2 separate regions of the Homo sapiens genome follow, and region 2 is linked to region 1. The links are contacts of gene promoters, found by promoter capture Hi-C in human tissues and cell types (Jung and others, 2019). All regions are on one chromosome and are shown on one strand. The core of a region is centred on a gene start or on the middle of the fragment in contact, and the rest is flanking DNA. Distances in the headings are between cores, read along the strand shown.

What was found. Contacts are between HindIII fragments. The study calls those that stand out against the background at their distance.
Region 2: a contact is called between a fragment that was not itself captured here and the fragment with the promoter of DNALI1 in region 1, in 1 of the 25 tissues and cell types used here (spleen).

Annotation. Positions count from the first base shown.
Region 1 is chr1:37,554,329-37,559,885 of GRCh38, forward strand. It overlaps DNALI1 (dynein axonemal light intermediate chain 1), which reads left to right and starts at 2,612. Exons shown (of 6, transcript NM_003462.5): 1 at 2,612-2,747; 2 at 3,275-3,420; 3 at 4,999-5,168. The coding sequence starts at 2,667. It also overlaps the pseudogene RPS27P9. RefSeq lists enhancers at 1,219-2,189, 2,400-2,694. The HindIII fragment of the contact is 4,106 bases long and covers 2,423-5,557 here.
Region 2 is chr1:37,490,757-37,496,313 of GRCh38, forward strand. MEAF6 (MYST/Esa1 associated factor 6) reads right to left here. Exons shown (of 7, transcript NM_001270875.3): 6 at 5,129-5,162; 7 at 1-3,351. The coding sequence ends at 3,343. Among named protein-coding and RNA genes, the nearest start is that of MIR5581, 7.5 kb to the right of the region's middle. The HindIII fragment of the contact is 5,415 bases long and covers 1-5,377 here.

The DNA of each region.
Region 1 (5,557 bases), core at 1,362-3,861:
CAGGCTCCCAGAAATCCTCGCGGCAAAGGTTAAACACGTGACTACTCCCTAGTGGGTGTGGCCGCAGCGACAGGCTTGGGTGGCGGGAGTTTCAAGTTTCAAAAACAAACTTCTGGCTGGGAGTGGTGGCTCACGCCTGTAATCCCAGAACTTTGGGAGGCCGAGGCTGACGGATCACTGAGGTCAGGAGTTAGAGAACAGCCTGGCCAACATGGCAAAACCCCGTCTCTACTAAAAATACAAAAATTAGCCGGGTGTGGTGGCGCGCACCTGCAATCCCAGTTACTCGGGAGGCTGAGGCAAATGAATCACTTGAACTGGAGGCGCAGGTTGCAGTGAGCAGGGATCTCACCACTGCACTCCAGCCTGGGCAACAGAGCGAGATGTCTCAAAAACAAACAACAACAAAAACTGGGAAAAAGCAAACCTCTCAAGGCTGTTTGTTGCCACATTATTAGTAATTACAAAACGTGGAAACAATGTAAATACCAGCAGTAGGGAAGTTAGCCAAATTAATGGGTGTTATGTGGCCATTAGTAAACCATTTACAAACTTTAAAAACCCTGACTTGTTAACGATAAAGCAGGATACAAAATTGTGTGCAAACTATAATTACATTTACATTTGGAAATAGAAGGGAGGAAGAAATGGAAATGCAATCAGAGATGATAACCCATGGGCAAATCATTAGCTTTTCAAATCATTAGCTTTTCCTCTTCTATTTCCTGAACTTTCTGCAATGCTGTTGGGGCTCAGAAACCAAAACCCCAAAATACGGCTCACTGACAAGCTGAACTGAAGAAGCCTCAATGTTCCTTTCCAGTGCCCATCATCTCTCCCAAAGCACAGGTCTTTATCTGCCTAAGATCCAGACTACCAAAAGGAATAATTGTTTCTTTCTTCTCCACCCAAGAATGTAATCACACCTGACCAGAGACCCTTATACTGTCAAAAGTAGCTATTTACAGCCGAGCACGGTGGCTGCAGCCTGTAATTCCGGCGCTTTGGGAGGCCAAGGCAGGAAAATCGCTTGAAGCCAGGAGTTTGAGACCAAACTGCCTAACATAGCAAGACTGTCTCTACAAAAAAATTAAATTTGGCAGGGGCTAGTGGCTCGTGCCTGTGGTCCCAGCAGAGACAGGAGGATCGCTTGAGCCCAGGAGTTGGAGGCTGCAGTGAGCCGTGATGGCACCACTGCACTCCAGCCAGGGCTACAGAGTGAGACCCTGTCTTCAAAAAAACCAAACCAAAACAAAAAAAAAAACACAAAAAACTATTTACAAATTTATCTCTGTTCCCTTATTCATTCATTCTGCCTAGTAATCCCTGAACAGAATTCCTCCTTCTCCCACCCTCACAAACCTGTTTTACCAGGAGGGTATATAAGCTTCTGAACCCTTTTCGGGGTGGGTAATCATACTGTGATTCTCCCCGTGTATACATTTTAAATACATTTGTATGCCTTTTCTCCAATTAATCTGCCTTTTGTGAATTGATTTTTGAGCGAATCTTCAGGGGGCAAAGGGGAGGTTTCCCATTGGCTCCTACTTTGTCATTTCTCCATTTAATTAGAAAAATACTTCAGGCTGGGCGCGGTGGCTCACGCCTGTAATCCCAGCACTTTGGGAGGCCGAGGCAGGCGGACCACGAGGTCAGGAGTTCGAGACCAGCCTGGCCAACGTGGTGAAACCCCGTCTCTACTAAAAATACAAAATTTAGCCGGGCATGGGGGCACGCGCCTGTAGTCCCAGCTACTCAGAAGGCTGAAGCAGGAGAATCGTTTGAACCCGGGAGGCGGAGGTTGCAGTGAGCCGAGATCACGCCACTGCACTTCAGCCTGGGCAACAGAGAGAGACTCCGTCTCAATTTAAAAATCAAAACAAGCCCTTTCTTGCGGTGACGACCTACCCACGAGAACATGCCTCTCGCAAAGGATCTCCTTCATCCCTCCCCAGAAGAGGAGAAGAGGAAACACAAGAAGAAACGCCTGGTGCAGAGCCCCAATTCCTACTTCATGGATGTGAAATGCCCAGGATGCTATAAAATCACCACAGTCTTTAGCCATGCACAAACGGCAGTTTTGTGTGTTGGCTGCTCCACTGTCCTCTGCCAGCCTACAGGAGGAAAAGTAAGGCTTACAGAAGGATGTTCCTTCAGGAGGAAGCAGCACTAAAAGCACTCTGAATCAAGATGAGTGGGAAACAATCTCAATGAACACATTTTGGGAACAACTACAACAACAAAAAAAACCTTCAAAAAACCTAGGAACTCCAGATGACTTCCTTTGGGAATTGTCCCTTAACCCTTCATGAGAAGTCAGGAGATGACTCCTGTTTTTCAGGTGACAAAATTGGAGCATGGCAAAGGTGATCTGCCCACTTCAAATCGCTAGCTAGACGGAGCATAGGGACTCGAACTGCCGTTTTCCTCGCCTCCAAGAGTACAGGGACGAACCGGTGAGCAGAAGGCCTAAGAAGTCAGGCACAAGAGGTTTCTGCCCAGGAGGCACAGAATGAAACTTGCCGGCTGTTGGCCCCGCCCCACTTCGAAGCTCCGCCCAGGCCAAGAAGCGCGGGGGCGGGAGTGAGGGGGCGGTTTCCATGGTGACGGCAAACAAGGCCCACACTGGACAGGGCAGCTGCTGGGTTGCTACTCTCGCCTCCGCCATGATTCCGCCCGCAGACTCTTTGCTCAAGTACGACACCCCAGTGCTGGTGAGCCGGAACACGGAGAAACGGAGCCCCAAGGTAAAGACGGGGGCTCGGGAGACAAAGGAGCCTCGAAACTCCGATAGGGAAAGACACATTCCCGCATGGAGGGTCAGGAATCTCAAGGGACGGGGATTGCAGCGACTGGGAGTAAAGGGAATTGGGAAGTCAGAGAAGGAGGGTGAGAGGATTGTATAGGAAGCCCAGATGTTGGGTGTGACCCCAGAGGGCAGATTTAGGATGGGGAAGGAGGTCACAGGGAGATGGATGGGGCTCACTCTTCTTAATGGTACGCGGGTCCAAGAACAGATGACTAGGTAGTGATTTCCCCATCACCAGAGGTGTGAAAGCACATGCGCCAGAAACACCTGTTCAAGCATTGAGTTGGGGCCAGACTTCATGGCCTCCTTCAGCTCTGTGACATAATTTCTGCTGAGAAGACCGACCCAAAGTAGGCTAGGAAGAGGGGAGGGCTGTGCAGAAGACCTGGAGCAATATACAGGTTGGGGATGTGTGGAGCTGAGCTCCTGAACAATTTCCTGCCCTCACCTGTGCCTTCATCTCAGGCTCGGCTACTGAAAGTCAGCCCCCAGCAGCCTGGACCTTCAGGTTCAGCCCCACAGCCACCCAAGACCAAGCTCCCCTCAACTCCCTGTGTCCCAGATCCTACAAAGCAGGCAGAAGAAATCTTGAATGCCATACTACCCCCAAGGTAAGAAAGTAGGAGCAGTGGCTGGGAGAAGGCCTAAGCTTTTACATCGTGGATTTTGGGAGTGTGGGGGGAGGCACTCTGCCTCTGTTCCTGGCTGGGGTTTCCTCCCAGTATCACAGAGCTCCTAGAACTTACATATGGCTGGATCCTGGCAGGGTGGTGGGAGACCTCTTCTCAATCTACCCTCATTTCCTGCATGCTGTCACCCAATCTCATGGCTTTAGATACCACCTATGTGCTGATGGCTCCCAAATGTGTATTTCCAGCCCTGTCTTCTCCACTAAACTCCAGGACCATATAGTCTTCTGCTTCCTCATTATCTTCATGAAGATATCTAATAGACATCTCAAACTCAATATATTCAAACTAAATCACAATTTCTTCCTTCCCCAATCTGCTCATCCCCCGTATTCTCCTTTTTACTAGGGACTCAAACCACCTTTCATTCCTTTTGATCACTCTCACAGCATGTGTCCTATCCTTCGTCACATTCTTTTGGCTCCACCTTCAAATTCTTTCCCAAATCCAACCACTTTTCACCACCTCTGCTTCCACCATCTTGCTCCTAGTCACTGGTGGCCACTCGCACTGCTGCAGTGGCCTCCTATCTGAAAACACTGCTTCCACTCTGCTCCTAGAATCTATCCTCCATACAGCCCCTAAGTCATAAGTCAGATCATGCCAGTCTCTGCCAGAAACTCTTTTGTGGCTTCCCATCTCAGACTAAAATCAAAAATCCTTACAATGGCCTGGAAGATGTGGCATGATCTGGCCTACGATGTATCCCTGACCTTATCTCCTGTTATTCTGTTTCTTGTTCACTGTGCTGAATCCACAGGGACCTCACTTGCTATTTCTGAAATGCCTCATTCACTCTCCTACCACAGGGCCCTGACAGCTGGTGTTTTCACTGCCAAAGATGTTCTCCCCTTGATATTCTCCTGGTTCCTTTCATTTCTTCCAGGCCTTCCTTGAGAATTTGCTATAGCAGAGCACCCCTGCCCAACATGATCTCCTTTTCTTGCTTTTTTCTTCTGCAGCCACATTGATAAAAGGACATGCCTTTTCATCTATTTTTATGTAATAAGTTGACAGCACAGTTGGTAAGGCTATGAGGAAAAGGGAAATGGGGGCCTACGCAGGCACACACCTTCATGAACCTCTCCACCCCGATACACACATCTGCCTCTTTCTGGCTCGCACAAGGTTCATGATGTCCTGTGTTTCCCACCCCGTAAGTTGGTGGGTAGTTCCTACTGTTCACATCAAGCAACAACCATAAATCGGTCTTCAGCATGTTAGGAGGGTAAGATCTGGAACAGTGGGGAATGATTTCACAGAGGCCCGTTGCCAAGGTGGAAATTGTCTACCACCTACCCATTCCCAAGATCCCTGTGGAGGCAGCATAGTGGGTGTGGCTTTGGAGCCTCACACCCCAAGGGATGGAGGATTCTGGTGGGTTGGTGGCAAAGCTGCCCCTCACCACTACTCAGGCAGAGGGCTCAAAGGGCCCTCTGCTCATGTGCTAGGGACCTTCAAGTCAACGGGTTTTGCTCAGCCTCGCTGTGTCTGCCACAGGGAGTGGGTGGAAGACACGCAGCTATGGATCCAGCAGGTGTCCAGCACCCCTAGCACCAGGATGGACGTGGTGCACCTCCAGGAGCAGTTAGACTTAAAGCTGCAGCAGCGGCAGGCCAGGGAAACAGGCATCTGCCCTGTCCGCAGGGAACTCTACTCACAGTGTTTTGGTGAGTGAGCCAGGTGAGGGGTGGGCACTACACACCCTACTGCTCCCTTCCCTTCACCTTCAGCACAGATCCAAGCCTGAGCACCTTGGAGCTGGAGCCCATCTCATGCTGGAATCCCCTCTTCTCCCCCTGCCTGACCCACCCAGCAACAGCTAACTGCCCCCTTCCCCTTCCCAGCTGAAGGGGGCCAGCCCCTCCACACCTGTGGGTATTTCTCCTCAGGCAGGAGGAGAGACTAAGAAAAGAAATAAGACACAGACAAAGTATAGAGAAAGAAAGGTGGGCCCAGGGGACCGGCACTCAGCATACGGAGGACCCGCACCGGCACTGGTCTCTGAGTTTCCTCAGTATTTATTGATTACTATTTTCACTATCTCAGCAAGAGGAAT
Region 2 (5,557 bases), core at 1,420-3,919, 64 kb before region 1:
TGGCTCACGCCTGTAATCCTAGCACTTTGGGAGGCTGAGGCAGGTGGATTACGAAGTCAGGAGTTTGAGTCCAGCCTGGCCAATATGGTGAAACCCGGTCTCTATTGAAAATAAAAAAAAACTAGCTGGGTGTGGTAGCACGCGCCTGTAGTCTCAGCTACTCGAGAGGCTGAGGCGGAATAATTGCTTGAACCCTGGAGGCGGAGGTAGCAGTGAGCCAAGATTGTGCCACTGCACTCCAGCCTGGACGACAGAGCAAGACTCTGTCTCAAAAAAATAAATAAATAAAATAATGCCTCATTAATTTGGAGTAAGGTTGGGGGGCATAGAAGACAGAATAAATGCAAAAACTAAGTCACAGAGTGTTTCAAGCTTAGGCTCTTTAACTTTCAAGCTTAGACTATTTATCGCTCATTTTAATTATCTTCTTTACTGCACAGGTCAAGATGTCAAGAATACTCTATATTGCCAGGTGCCAGGGCTCATGCCTGTAATCCCAGCACTTTGGGAGGCTGAGGTGGGTGGATTACCTGAGGTCAGGAGTTCGAGACCAGCCTGCCCATCATGGCAAAACCCCATCTCCACTAAAAATACAAAACTTAGATGGGCATGGTGGTGCATGCCTGTAGTCCCAGCTACTGGGGAGGCTGAGGCAGGAGAATTGCTTGATACCTATAATCCCAGCACTTTGGGAGGCCAAGGCAGAAGGACTGCTTGAGGCCAGGAGGACTGCTTGAGGCCAGCCTGGGCAACATAGCAAGAAGCCATCATTACAAAATAAAAATGTTTTAAATTAGCTGGGAATGGTGGCATGCACCTATAGTCCCAGGTACTAGTAAGGCTGAAGCAGGAAGATGGCTTGACCCCAGAAGTTCGAGGCTGCACTGAGCTTTGATCAGGCCGCTGCACTCCAGCCTGGGTGACAGAGCAAGATCCTGTCAATAAATAAATAAATAAATAAATAAATAAATAAAATATATAAATACTTAAATAATCTTTTTAAGAGCAGTACTATTCTGTCTCCAGCAATGTCAAACTATGAGAGTCAAAAATATTTTAAGGTCTGCTGTGTGCTTTCCTCAGAGGGAAGGAAACTAGGCATCCCACTGCAGTTTCATAAATACGTAAATAATCTTTTTAAGAGCAGTACTATTCTTTCTTTTTTTTTTTTTTTTTGACAGAGTCTCGCTCTGTCGCCCAGGCTGCTGGAGTGCAGTGGCGCAACAGAGCAGTACTATTCCATCTCTAGCAATCTCAAACTGTTAAGAGTCAAAAATATTTTTTTTTTTTGAGATGGAGTCTCGCTCTGTCGCCCAGGCTGGAGTGCAGTGGCACTATCTCAGCTCACTGTAAGCTCCGCCTCCCAGGTTCATGCCATTCTCCTGCCTCAGCCTCCCGAGTAGCTGGGACTACCGGCACCCGCCACCACGCTCAGCTAATTTTTTGCATTTTTAGTAGAGATGGGGTTTCACTGTGTTCGCCAGGATGGTCTCGATCTCCTGACCTCGTGATCCGCCCGCTTCGGCCTCCCAAAGTGCTGGGATTACAGGTGTGAGCCACCGCACCCAGCCCAAGAGTCAAAAATATTTTAAGGTCTGCTGTGTGCTTTCCCCAAAAGGAAGGAAACTGTAGGCATCCCACTCCTCCCTCCCAGCAAAGGAGACCAACAGACAAAAAATACAGAATGCTTCTAGGATTTTTTTTTTTAAGGAATAATCTAAATATAAGAAACTATTTCCTTAAAAATCCTGACACTGGAGTTCTGCTACCAAAGACACAGTCAAAGATCTAAATAGCCAGAGTCAAAAAAAAAAAAAAAAAAAAACCCACAAAAGTTTATTTGAGAACAAGAGTGAAAGCTTTTGCACATCTGACAAGGTAGACTTGTTTTACAGTAGATGCCATCCATATTCAGCCCTACCAATACTATCACAAATGAAACATACTATTTCTTACAAAGATATAGGCATAAGTCAAGGACTATGACTAACTAGAGTGAAAGGAAAGGTTAGACCCCAAATCTTATCCCTTAGACCAATCATAACATAGGATGTAAATTAAACCATTCAGTCTTCTAATGTAGTGGTTCTCAACCTGGCTTCTTATCAGAATCCCAGGAACTCTTTTAAAGAAATTCCCAATAACTAGGCTGTACCCCAGTCTCTAGGGATGGGATCCAGGCATGAGTATTTTAAAGCTTCTCAGGTGATTCCAATGTGCAGCCAGACCCTGTCGCAAGTTCACCACAGCACTAGAGGCAGGTAACGATTACTAGCAGATTCCTCAGCCCCAACAAGCCCTCCAAGAAAGGGAGACCTGGTGGGCAACACTGGCTCTCACTGATGCTATCCTTTCACTCCACTTAAGAACGACATAAGTTATCACTTTTGGTATAATTTTGAGACTTTCCATATGCCATGGTGATTTTTAGAGCAATATTTAATCAGGTGAATACCAGCAAAGAGAGAAAATACAGAAAAAGAAATTTCCATAAGGCATGATATGAATAAATAAGTGAAAAAACAATCTCGGGTTTAAAAGTAAAGCATGAGAATTTGAAGCCTGTGAAATTTTATTTATACAAAAGAATAAAAAGTTATTTAAAAAGAACTGATTTAAACTTATGTTTTTCCATTTTTCCTGTTCCTTGAACATGAATCTACTACCAACTCAGAAAGATTTAAGATAGGTAATTACTAAACACTCTTTACCTCCCCTTGCAAAAAACAGAGGCAAGTTTCCCATTTTACTTATGATAAACCAGATTATTTTCAGTTATGAATATTGGCAACTGCATGAAAGAGATGATCAGATATGTCAGCAGGAAAGTATGAGCTGTACAAAGGCATTACAAAAAAACCCCAAAGAAAATAAGATAAAAACAACAAGAGAAAAACAAGAAAACATAAAACAATATAAGAAAATGCCAGATATTTACAGCCTCCATCTGAAATGTGACTTGTGTTCTACTTTCAGCATAAAACAAAACCAGAGAACATTTCTTGAAGGGTATCACAGATGAAGCTGGTGCCAGCCAGTTTTGGGGGAGACATTCATTCTAAGAAGGGAGAAACGCACAGTTAGCAACTTGCTGGGATTACAACATTGTCTTCATCTTCCTGCAGTTCTGTTACTAAAAATGACATAAAGTAAGACCCAATGTCTTACAGAAATGACTTGTTTGTCACCACATTTAGAACAAACTACTCAAAGTCACAGGCACTGGGTCTGGGAGAGCAGAGGTGGATGGCCACGAACTCAGGTGAAGGATGTTTATCTTTGTGAGGTCAGAGAAGGGAAGCAGGGCTCTACAGCCTGGAAGCTTCTGCACTAATGTGTCTTCTAATAGTCCTAAAGAAAGAAAAACAAAAGTCCCAACTTACTCTCGGCAGAACAGTTGTTTGACCCTAAAGGAAAAAAAAAATCTCATAAACAACTCTACTAGGGGACTGCTCTATAGCTAAAGATTATATTTCAGGCCAGGCACAGTGGCTCACACCTGTAATCCCAGCACTTTGGGAAGCCGAGGCAGGGAGATCACGAGGTCAGGAGTTCGAGACCAGCCTGGCCAGCATAGTGAAACCCCGTCTCTACTAAAAATACAAAACATTGGCCAGACATGGTGGTGGGCACCTGTAATTCCAGCTACTCAGGAGGCTGAGGTGGGAGAATCGCTTGAACCTGGAAGGCGGAGGTTGCAGTGAGCCAAGATCGCGCCATTGCACTCCAGCCTGGGTGACAAGAGTGAAACTCTGTTTCAAAAAAAAAAAAAAAAAAAAAGATTGTATTTCAGGCCAGGCGTGGTGGCTCAGGCCTATAATCCCAGCACTTAGGGAGGCCCAGGCGGGCAGATCACTTGAGGTCAGGAGCTCGAGACCAGCCTGGGTAACAAATTAAGACCATGTCTCTACAAAAAACACAAAAATTAGCCAGGTGTGGTGGCTCATGCCTGTGGTCTCAGCTACCCAGGAGTCTGAGGTGGGAGGACGGCTTGAGCCTGGGAGGCAGAGGTTGCAGTGAGCCAAGATCACACCATTGCACTCTAGCCTGGGTGACAGAGCCAGACCCTGTCACACACACAAAAAAAAAATTTAAAAAAAGATTCTATTCCAAATATAATGTACAATATTTCACATCTGAAAATGGTCTGCCTTCTGAGTCCATAAAGGGATTGAAACATCAATTTTGCTCTTATTAGAGCACCTGAATTCACCAGTCCAAAAAAAAAAAGAGCTAGTATTAACAATTTATTATTTAATTAAAGGGAATTTTTCATCATTAAAAATGTATGTGACCGGCCGGGTGCGGTGGCTCACGCCTGTAATCCCAGCACTTTGGGAGGCTGAGGCGGGTGGATCACGAGGTCAGGAGTTTGAGACCAGCATGACCAACATGGTGAAACCCTGTCTCTACTAAAATACAAAAACTAGCTGGGCATGGTGGCACGCACTGTAATCCCAGCTACTCAGGAGGCTGAAGCAGGAGAATCACTTGAACCTGGGAGGCGGAGGTTGCAGTGAGCCAAGATTGCACCACTGCACTCCAGCCTGGGCAACAGAGCAAGACTCCGTCTCAAAAAATAAATAAATAAATAAATAAATAAATAAATAAATAAATAAATAAAGTATGTGACCTCTTTCTCTCCTTAAAATACAAAAACCATAGGCCAGGCACGTTGGCTCACACCTGTAATCCCAACACTTTGGGAGGCTGGGGTAGGAGGATTGCTTAAGTCCAGGAGTTCCAGACTGGACATCATGGTGAAACCCCATATCTACAAAAAATACAAAAATTAGCCAGGCAAGGTGGCATGTACCTGTATTCCCAGCTACTCGGGAGGCCAAGCACAGGAGGTCAAGGCCACAGTGAACTGTGACTGTGATGATACTGCACTCTAGCCTAGGTGAAAGAGCAAGAAACTGTCTCTCAAAAAAAAAAAACAAAAAACAAAAAAAAAAAAAAACAAAAAAACCACCTAAAAGTTGAAGTATATCCAGATGGACACCCCAGACTTTAAATCAAGAGTTATGACTCCAGGTTAGGAACACTCAAGCTCTGAAGACAAATACATTTTTCTAATCATCTACAAAATTGCCAGCCTCTCTGAAGTGGTCCGGCTGATACTTACAGCTCGTGGTTTTTTGTTTAACTTCAGATCAATCCTGTGACAGAAAAGATAAAAGATATTTCCATTTTAATTTACAGAAAATGGGTCCCACAATCAGCTACTGCATAGGGCATAAGCTATAACAAAGACTATTTGGTTAAGAAAAATCCACATTCTTCATTAGACTATGTCATATTTAGTTGTTTACCCAGATATTATCAAGCAAGTATTAAAAATTATGAGCACACATTTTTGCCCTAAGGCAAACTTAGCTGACTCTAAAAAGAAATGTATACAGCAGCTACAAAAGCCATATAATTTTAAAACAATTCCAAAACTACATGTTAAAAAGACTGAAGTAAGAGGGCATGCTCTATGTTAATGTGTTAGTTCTGTAACTATATCACTGAAAATTACTGAGACACATGGTGATTAACAACAGGAAAGAGA